Linked DNA regions of Homo sapiens: region 2 is linked to region 1. The links are contacts of gene promoters, found by promoter capture Hi-C in blood cells and fetal thymus (Javierre and others, 2016). All regions are on one chromosome and are shown on one strand. Each heading gives the region's core, a stretch centred on a gene start or on the middle of the fragment in contact. The rest is flanking DNA. Distances are from core to core; before and after follow the strand shown. Region 1 holds the start of TM6SF1 (transmembrane 6 superfamily member 1). Region 2 overlaps CPEB1 (cytoplasmic polyadenylation element binding protein 1).

Evidence for each region. The method cuts DNA at HindIII sites, captures the fragments that hold promoters and counts their contacts. A CHiCAGO score of 5 or more calls a contact.
Region 2: a contact is called between a fragment that was not itself captured here and the fragment with the promoter of TM6SF1 in region 1, in 2 of 17 cell types (M0 macrophages and monocytes). The highest score is 6.1, in M0 macrophages.

Annotation. Positions count from the first base shown.
Region 1 is chr15:83,106,254-83,111,399 of GRCh38, forward strand. It overlaps TM6SF1 (transmembrane 6 superfamily member 1), which reads left to right and starts at 1,392. Exons shown (of 10, transcript NM_023003.5): 1 at 1,392-1,519. The coding sequence starts at 1,428. RefSeq lists silencers at 1,020-1,299, 1,330-1,449. The HindIII fragment of the contact is 11,695 bases long and covers 1-5,146 here.
Region 2 is chr15:82,549,024-82,554,051 of GRCh38, forward strand. It overlaps CPEB1 (cytoplasmic polyadenylation element binding protein 1), which reads right to left. Exons shown (of 13, transcript NM_001365242.1): 7 at 4,855-4,968; 8 at 4,444-4,533; 9 at 3,457-3,593; 10 at 437-635. Among named protein-coding and RNA genes, the nearest start is that of RPS17, 11 kb to the left of the region's middle. The HindIII fragment of the contact is 1,847 bases long and covers 407-2,253 here.

The DNA.
Region 1 (5,146 bases), core at 142-2,641:
AGCACTTTGGGAGGCCGAGGCGGGCGGATCACGAGGTCAGGAGATCAAGACCACGGTGAAACCCCGTCTCTACTAAAAATACAAAAAATTAGCCCGGCGCGGTGGCGGGCACCTGTAGTCCCAGCTACTCTGGAGGCTGAGGCAGAATGGCGTGAACCCCGGGAGGTGGAGCTTGCAGTGAGCCAAGATTGCACCACTGCACTCCAGCCTGGGTGACAGAGCGAGACTCTGTCTCAAAAAAAAAAAAAAATAAAAATAATAAATAAATAAATAAATAAATAAATAAAATAAACCCCTCAAATGGCAACAGCAAAAACACATAAATGGTCTCTTAAATTCCCTGGAAGTTGTAAAGACAGTAAGTACATGCCGGTACCTCCCTCAGTTGCTTGAGCTGTTCTCCTGGAACTCACTGCCCTTCAGATAGCCACAACACTTGACACACAATATTTTCCATACCCGTAGGCATCTATCATTCAGAGGAAGAGGCTTATCTTCCAGTCTTTGTACCCTGCAGGGCCCAATGCAGGCTGGCTGGTGGGCACCTGGCCTCCAGGAATGCTTCCTGGAATAGCAATGAATGGCGCTCTAGTCTCTTAGAGTCTCAGCATTTATGTCCATTTCAATTAAAGAAAAAAAAAAAAAAAGAATCGCAGGAGGTGGTGTAGTGAGCAGCACAGGATAACGCGCTTCGTAGGTATGAACTCAGTTAACCCCACAGTCACACTATGAAGTGTGTTATCCCCATTTCCCAGATAAGGGAAAAGACAGAGAGGTTAAGTAATTTGACCAAAGTCAACAGCTGGTGACTGGAGAGCCAGGTTTAAAAACCGGATGCCGGCTCCGTGCAGCAGCCCGCCGATGGCTACTGGAGCGGAGAGGTTCCGAGGTTTCAGGGGCATTTTGTCCTTTCCCACTTCTGGGCCGTGGGCTCCCCCATAGACGATCCCGCGGGCCCTTCCTCCTCTGACACCCTCGGATCTGGTTCCACCTTTCCCGGACCGCAGCTCAGCCCCGCGCCTCTCCAGCTCTTCGATGACCGGTTCCCGGCCGTGCCCCGGGCCCTCCCTCGGAGCGCGCGCCGCCAGGGGCACCTGTCCCTGCGCGGGGGTGTCGCCGCCCCTCGGCGCCGCCGGGCGCTTGCCGCTGAGCCGTGGCGCCCCTGGCAGGAGCACTGCAAGGACGCCTCCCGGGACTGCACCGCGGCCCTGCGCACTTGGGGCGACGGGGCCAGGCGCGGGGGACGGCTGCGGGCTGGGAGGGCGCGCGGAGGAGACACCGCTGAGGGGACGCCGCTGAGGGCGCCACGCGGGGGGCGCGGCTGAGGCGCCTCGAAGGGCAAGCGCCAAGGGGGCGCGGGCGCCGCCGGAAGCTGGGGCGGGGCGCCCAGCGGGATGCGGTGAAGGGCGAGCGGCGCGGCGGCTGCGATGAGTGCCTCTGCGGCCACCGGGGTCTTCGTGCTGTCCCTCTCGGCCATCCCGGTCACCTATGTCTTCAACCACCTGGCGGCCCAGCATGAGTGAGTGAGCCGGCGCGGCGGGGGTCGCGCCGAGGGGCGGCGGGAGTTGGCTCGCCGCGACGGGAGCCTCGCAACTTTTCCGAGGGGGCTGGGACCGTCCGCCGCGGGACAGAGGTTCGTGGCCGCAGGGGCTCCCCGCGCCTGGCCAGACTAGGGGGGCGCCCCAGGGGTCGCACGGGCCGGGTCTTGGAGCCGGGCCCTGAGGTGCCCAGGCTGGCGCATTTCGGGATGTTGGTGCCAGCACCGCGCCAGGTGCCCGGGGTCACAGGCGTCAATACGGCCATGCCCCTGCCCTGGAGGGGCCCAGGGGCCGGTGGGGAGCGGAACAAACACGGACACTACGAACCTGGCCGTGTCAGCTCGTTTGTGCCTTGTTCTTTTTGCATCTCACGGGAACGTTTCCATGTATGGACTTTCGCATACTTATCATTTCTTATTAATTTTAGAAACTGTTGTGAATGACTAGCAGAAATAGCCCGGAACCAACAGGCAGAGACGTGGGTTCTAGGCCTGGCTTTGGCACTGACGGTGTCTGGCCTGACGGTGTTTGGCACTGACGGTGTGGTCTGGCCTCGGTTTTCCGGTCAAGTGGACTTTGTGTGCGTCCTATTGTAAGGTTCCACCGAGACCTCTTTGTGAAGGGGCGTTGTGAATGGAGAAGTGCTTCCCAGTGCCTGCGCTGGGGTAGGATGGGGACAGGCAGCAGAGGCAGAACACTTCAATGTGAAGGAAATGGGTGGGGCTGATGGAGGGGGACAGGGCTTGGGTTCGAAGCCCTGCCTCCCACTCCACTGCAGGGATCACGGACTAACCTGCAGCCGGCAGCTGAAGGCCTGAGGGTCGCCGGGTGTTGGGACAGGCGCCAGCCTCTGTTCCTGCTGATGTTGGTTGCTGTCTGGAGGGAGGAGGAAGTAACCTGCTATGTCTCTCAGCTGTTGGTGCTAAGGAAATTGCATCAGTCTGTAGGCTGCAAACCCCCTTCAGCTGGTCAGGCCGTGGAGTGTCTGTACATAGGGTGGTAACTTCCTCCTCTCCAGCTGCCTGGCCGCCTGATACAGGCAGCACCCACACTGAGTGCTCACCAGGCACCAGCAGTGTCTACCCTTGGTCTGGCCCAGTCTCTGGAGGCATCCCCTGGAGGCAGCTGCTCTGGGCCACCGAATATTACATGCCTGTCAATATAGTGCATGGGGGACCCTGTGCTCCAAAAAATGGCATTACGGGTAGTTCAGTGAAGATATACTGAGTGCCTACTGTGTGTTTGGCACTGTTCCAAGTGTTGGTGACATAGCTATGAACAAGCCAGAAGAGGCTGTGGAGGCAGGTAATGAGATAGACATCAACAAACATTAATACATCGATAGTGACATGCTATGAAGATAATAAAATAGGGTGACTGGGGAGGGGGCTGGTGGCCAGGGAAGGCTTCTAGGAGGAGGTAACACTTGAGCTATGGGAAGATCTGGGAATGGAGCCTGTCGGGCAGGAAAATGGAGCAGTGCAGGGGAAGGAATTGGATGGGCGTAGTAGGTATTTTGGAAGGTGAACAGATGGGGCTTACTGAAGAGGGTTGCATGGCAGCAGAGGATTTGAGGATGAGCCCTAGGTTTTGGCCTCAGCCACTGGGAAGATGGTGATGGCATTTACTGAATACAGACTGAACTATGTATTGCTGTGCATGATGGAGCGCACTGGCAAGCACTACAGCATTTTGAATAATTAGTGTCAGCCATTCTTCCTGTCCTCTTGCAGGTTAAAACCCCCGTGGCCTTTGATTCCTCTCTTCTTTCTCCACTCCCTTCCTCCTACTGTCTGCTTCCCCATAAGTCCTGGGGCTCTAGTGTCTGTTCCCTCCTTTCAGTTCTCCCTGGCACTGGCCCTTTCTGACCTGGACTGTGGCAAAGGCTCCGGTGCAAGTCTCGCTGCCCAGCCCCGCTGCGTGTTTCTCGGCCTCGGCCCCCCAGTCCCAGCCCACGCACTAGTGCTCCTGCCGCACCAGCCTGCCTTTGCTCCTTGACCATTCCTCCTCCTCTCCAGCCTCTAGCCCGGACTCCTGCTGCTCCCTGACAGGGATGCTGCCTTCCTCCTATCGCAGACTGTTGAAGCCGCACCTGGACTTTATGGCCACTTCTACCTTCTGCAGACCCTCCCTCTCTCTCCTTTGAGCTCCCTCAGTCCCTTGTTTGCACCTTTCTCCCGAGAGTTACTTTCCTGTGGTAAGAACTTACCTGCCCCGGCTATAGCTCACCCCTCTGTACTGTCCTGCCCAGGCCAGCGCCGTGTGCATCGTAGGCACTCAGGTATGTTTGACTTTGTTGAATCGAGTTTCCTTCCCACCAAACCTTTTATGCAACTCTGAAAACCAGAAAAAGAAAATTAGATTGAGAGGTCAGGAAAGGATTGAGCGTGTTCTGTCTCCCTCTCTCACTGAGAGAGACACACTGCTCACACTCATCCTTGCATGTCCCCTCTCAGTAGGTGTCTGTTCATAGAAGGGCATCAGCAGCCCTTCCCACCCCCCAAGACTAGCAACTTTCTCATCCTGGGGTTAGTCGCAGCCCTTACCTGTCCCTGAGTCCCTGCAGGACCTGTTTCTTCCTGTGGTGAGCAGGTCCTGCACTTGGCTGTTGTAGGAGGGTCTCTGGGGACAGTGCCAAGAGTCAGAGACAATCTGCTGCCCTAGTTTCCCTTCATTCTTCCCTCCTCTCCTGGAGCTAAGAGCATGAGAGGACGCTGTGAACCAGTTCACACTGCTCTGTCCTGCTCCAGAAGAGCACCAACCACGCGATCCTGCTGGCAGTGAGTGCAGGCCCTTGGTAGGAGTGAAGACTGGAGTTGTCACCTGACCACCACCTGCCTCAGGCTGTTCACCATTAAAATGCCTGTCAGCTGACCCAGCACACCCACCTCTTCCCTCATGGGATTCTTCAGCCCAGCATCATACTCTTGACCCACACTGGCTTCCTCCTTCTTCAGCTCATCCCCACAGGAGGAGCCTGGAGCAACCACTGAAGTGCAATCACCAGAAACCTCCTATTTTTCAGTTTCTCACCTGGACATTGAAACAGCCACCCTCATTCTTTTTTAAAAAATGTAATTAATTGTTATTATTTTTTGAGACGGACTCTTGCTCTGTCATCCAAGCGGGACTGCAGTGGTGCAATCTTGGCTCACTGCAGCCTCCAACCCCCAGGTTCAAGCAATTCTACTGCCTCAGCCTCCCAAGTAGCGGGGATTACAGGCATCCGCCACCTCGCCTGGCTAATTTTTTGTATTTTTAGTAGAGACGGGGTTTCACCATGTTGGCCAGGCTGGTCTCCAACTCCTGACCTCGGGTGATCCACCCGCCTCGACCTCCCAAAGTGCTTGGATTACAGGTGTGAGCCACTGCGCCCGGCCTCATTCTTATCATAGAATTGATCCATCTATCATTTATCCATCCATCCTCCATACATTCACCCATACTCCATCCATCCACTCATCATCATCTATCCATCCATTTATCCATCATCCTCCATCATCCATCAATTCATCCATCATCCATCCATCCATTTATCCATCATCCTCCATCATCCATCAATTCATCCATCATCCATCCATCTATTCACCCATCATCCACCCATTCAC
Region 2 (5,028 bases), core at 80-2,579, 560 kb before region 1:
GAAAGTCCTCCTCCAGCCTGACCTGGTCTCTGACCTTAGACAATGCCAGAGCTTTTCAAGAACTTTTAATAAAAAACTCCAGGCAAGTTCAGAGAATTGCAGCCTTTTCATGAAATAGTACCTGTTGTCTGTTCCAAACTGGTTTCGCTGTGAACTCTGAGCTTCCAACAAAGTTCCTACCTCACTCTCACTTCTTATCACCTCCTGTAGTCTCCAATAGCTTTTTCTCCCACTGCGTGGGAGATGGTGGGTAGAGGGCTAGATACAGAAGGGCCAGTACTCGTGACTTGTCTAGAAAAAGATATTATGGTGCTGGTATATGCTGATCTGCAGACCTGGGTCAGGCCTCTCTCCTCACTCCCATGGGGAAGTATCACAATCTTGGTCTACTCCCAGGGGCCAACCAAGCTTTCGCACACAGAAGTGGGACACTTACCAATGGGATACTTGTGCTTATCTGTGTCAATCCCGGCATACACCACTCCACCAAATAGGTCGTTCAAGATGGCTGCCAGGGCCTCAGCATTTAGCATTCCATGCAGAGCACCGACAAACACCGTCCTGCTGGGGTCAAGCCTCTGAGATGGGCTCCGGACAAAGTTACTGTCGGCTAATACCCAGGGGATCACCTGCACCTGAAAACCACCCAAAGGTGTATCAGCCCTGGCAGAGAGCCACAGAGAGAGAGGTGCTTGCACGGCAAGGTACGTGCTCTGGAGATACTGAAGCTAAGCTAACGCCCTTACAGGGGTGAAAAGGTGCTGTTGCCCAATCTCAGGCACACAGGCGTCCAATAAACCACCCTGACTCCACCCCAACTGGAGTTGAATTTTACTGAGTCCATGTGTCCAGAATGGTAGAAGTGGACACAGTACTCACTCATGCTGGAGAGTAAGCAAAAAAGTACCACATGGCCAAACCCAGGAGCCCAGCATTCTATTTCAACCTCCAACTGTGTAGTTCCAACAAAGGGCTGTGGACACTGATGAAAAGGGCATAATCTGAAGTCCTCAAGAAAGGAAGGACTCACAGAGAAATTAAAGGCTAGGATCCTGAAGGACAGAGGGGTGGGAGTGCTTACGATATTTGTATGAGATGGTTACTGGCCCAACCTAGCCTTCAGAGGGTTTGTGCCAGAGCAGTGGAAATGACTGGCGAGAGGTTGGGTAGAAAGTCACATACAAGATCCCTGGAGTCTTAAAGGGCTGGGGCTGACCATGTCCTTTGCCTCTGAATCTCCTGAACCTGGAACAAAACCTTGTAGAGCAGGTGGAGGAGTCCAGAATGAAGTGAAGATCTAAAAATATGTCTTGAAGCAGGAAGAGATCTGAGGCAGAAACCAGCAAGGAGGCAAAAACAGTAGTTTCAAAGGACAGGTGATTAAGACTTGGACAAGGCTGGTGGCAACGAGCAGAGAACAGGCCAAGACCAAAGAGATTCTTCAACAGAAGAGTCTGCAGTACTCAGACAGCATAAGCAGGATGGGCAAGCAAGGAAGAATCAGGCCTGGTAGGTGCTGGGCCTACACGGTCTTGGGATGAGAGGACCTGGCAGAAGTTACAAGAGGGGAGCCAATTTCACTGGAAGATGAAAAAGCCAATTTTGCCCACAAAAGAGTTTGGGATTACAGGACATCCCGAAGAAGGATCCCACAGGAAGGTGAGGCTCAGGTAGGACATGAGGCTAGAAAGGTGAATCTGGGTCTAAAGGTGAGAGAAGCCACAAAGTGAGTCATTTATCTGAACTAGAAAAGAAGAAGGGAGTCAAAGATTGGCTATATTGGCTATGTTGGTGCTGGCGGGGAGAGGAACACAAAGGAAAAAGAAAAGTAGAGAGGAAGGAGAACTGCATCAGCCTATAGCCAGTGAATCAAAGAAAGATTAAATCCCTGTAAGGTGATGGGAGGGAATGGGAGACAGGATGGTGTCTACAGGGGCACTGAGGAGGAAGGGGAAGGGCTCTGTGATATGCATATGGCCATCTCTGGTTGTGAAAGCAGGAGGGGAGGAAAAAGGAGCATGTTAATTAAGTCCTAGAACATACTAAGGTGGGAAGACTACACAAGCTCCAGAGAATAAAGAAGCAGAGAAGGTAGGGAAGCTGTGGGTCACTGTGGGCAGCCAGAGGATGAGCCTGCCCTCTCTCTAACACAGAACAAGAGCCAGCTTTGTTACATGGATTTATTTTAAATCTAATGTGACCATCCCAATAAAATAGGCATTTCTCCTCTTACCCTATAGATTTTTTTAGAGAAGCTTTAAGGTTTACAGTAAATCTGAGCAGAAAGTACAGGGATTCTCCAAATACTCTCTGCCCCCACACTTGCGTGACTTCCCCACTATCAGGATCCCGCATGAGAGTGGAACATTTTTTTATACTGACCCATCATCCCCACCGAAAGTCCATGGTTTGCATCAGAGTTCACTCCTGGTGTTTCTTTTACCTTCTATGGGTTTGGACCAAAGTATAATGACATGTATCCACCATATACAGAATAGTTTCACTGCCCTAAAAATCCTCTGTGCTATGTCTCTTCATCCCTTCCTGCTAAACCCCTGGCAACCACTGATCTTTTTTACTAAAATAGGCATTTTAGTTTCCCATCTTATAGAAGAGAAGAGGAAACAAAGTTTCAGAGATATTAAATATCTAGTCCAATGTCACAAAAGTTGTGTGCTCTCAAATCCGATTTTACCACCGCACTGATTCCTGAGCTCAAAACTTGCTTTGACAAGTGGTTCTCAAACACTACCCACTAGAACCACCTGGGGATCTTTATTCAGTTGGAGATTCCTAAATTCCACCCAGAGTGATTCAGTAAGTCTGGGATAAGGCCCAAGAATGTGCAATGAGATCCCCAGGTGAGATAAACTCGTTAGAGACCCATGCTGCCAAGGATACATAAGGCTGATATTAGAAAAAGCGTAGGAAGAGAGAATCTTATGGGGAAAACCCACAAAACTAAATAAAGCCCTGAATAAGAATGAAGAAGTGACCCACAGGTGGGTGTGGGCTAAAGAGGAATTCACCCCCACAGACTGGGAGGTCACAAGGCACAGGAAGGGCAGGACCAGGGAAAAACAGCTGTAGGTTTATCAGTTAAGTCCAAGTAGAGAAGTTTGCTGTTCTCAATTTCATTTCTAAGACAAGAGGTTTGAAACCAAAGTGTTGGCTACAAGAAAGAAGAGCAGAATAAAGACGGGCAGACAGTTTGATTACCATGGGCAGGCATGCGCATGTGTGCATGCACACACCCCATTAAGTCCCAAAGGTTGCTTTTTTTTTTTTTTAATGTAATTGAGAGGATACTGCTATTTTATTGTGGGACAAGAAGAGCCTTCTTGCCTCAGCAGGAATACTCCTTGCCTGCAGCCTGCCTATCCACCTACCACAAGAAAATCCAGTGCCTCAATATTCCAAGACCCTCGATCCAGAAAGGACATCACGCTAACTCACCTCCTTGCAGCGCATCCTTCGGCTGGACATCTTGAAATAATATTCACTCAGGCCATCTGGGCTCAGCGGGTCATGAGAGCAAGCCTGAAGCAAGGATCGGACAGACTTCTCTAGTTCGAAGACCAGATACACATACCCTATTCCCAATGAGAGGAAAAATCGCATTAATATCCCTTAGGTGGCCACTCCTCAGCCTTGGCTTTGCAGCAGGGCGTTTCTTCCAAGAAAGAAGGTCTTGTGTATAAGATACATTTTTGTTTTACTCCTGAAAAGTCGTGTTGAGTGGAAGCATTTGCTATGCAGATGCCCTGGGTTGTGGGCCTCCCTCCCACCCTGGTGAAGGAAAGGACTGGCAAGCTGAGACAGAGGATCCCACCATTACCACAGCTCTCTATGCAAGAACACAGAGCATGTTCAGGTCAGCAGAGCCAGGCTTTCCTGGTGGCAGGAAAGATGGCAGGTATTGCTTTAAACACCTACTTAAACCATTAGTTCAGTTCAATGAAGATGGGGCAGGGTGAAAATAGCACCTGCTCCTTTCTACAGGGAAGGGATCTCATTTCAGACCAGTGAGGAATCAGATGCTTGGTCCTCATTCCTGCCAACTCCAAAGGGACTTCAGAATTAGGTCAGGCAACAACGTAACTGGGCAGGACAGGCAGGCAAGGGAAAGCTTTTCAAACGCCTTATTTTGAGAGGAAAGGTGCTGCTTGGGTTCAGGTTTAGAGAGAAGTGTACAAGGAAGGGGTTTCAGAGGCAACTCCCACTGCTGTGTAAGTCTGGACAGATGGAACATTAGCTCAGAAGAAACAGAGGGACATGTTAGGTTGAAGAGAAAGTGCTGACAGATGGCAGGTCTGTGCCCTGGAGTGCCCACCATGTTACCAACATGCAGCTGTGACATCCCAGCACCCCTAGGTGCAGTTATGTACTAGGGAAGGGAAAAAAAAGCTCCTACCATGTCTTTATTACCTTTAGGCATATTACCTTTGGGAGGACACCGGGGATGCTTGCCATCCTTACCAGGCCACTCCACACTCAAAGAGCCAAAAACACGGAAGGTGTTAACTAATCCAGCTGCAAAGAGACAGAAAAGAATGGCAGAAGCTGAGGAACCATCTTTCCCAGTAAAGACACAAACACAGAATCACCAGCATTCTCCTCCCTGGCTCATCCCCACTGACAAACAACTCAGAAACGAATGCTGATCTCCGGTGTAAGCTCCCGACATAAGGAGCACTATGGGGGTCTATGAAATGCACCTCTCCCCTCAGACACTCATGTAATACCCTGAGCTCAGGCAGGGCATTCAGCCCCTGGCCTCAATTCCAAGTTTCATGCTCCTGAAAGACATGCCCCACCCTTCAACTCTTAAAGCAGGTCTTAGAGACAGCTCACCTTCTGTAATATCCCAAGGAACACCTCCTAGAAACACCTTGCAAGAGTAGATGGGGTTCTTATAGTTCCGGGGAGGAAGCTGGCCACTCCAGGTACAGGTGGCTTCATTCACAGCTTTGGTAGATGGCAAAGAGATAAACAGGGGAGGTTAGAGAATCAACAAAGCCACACTCT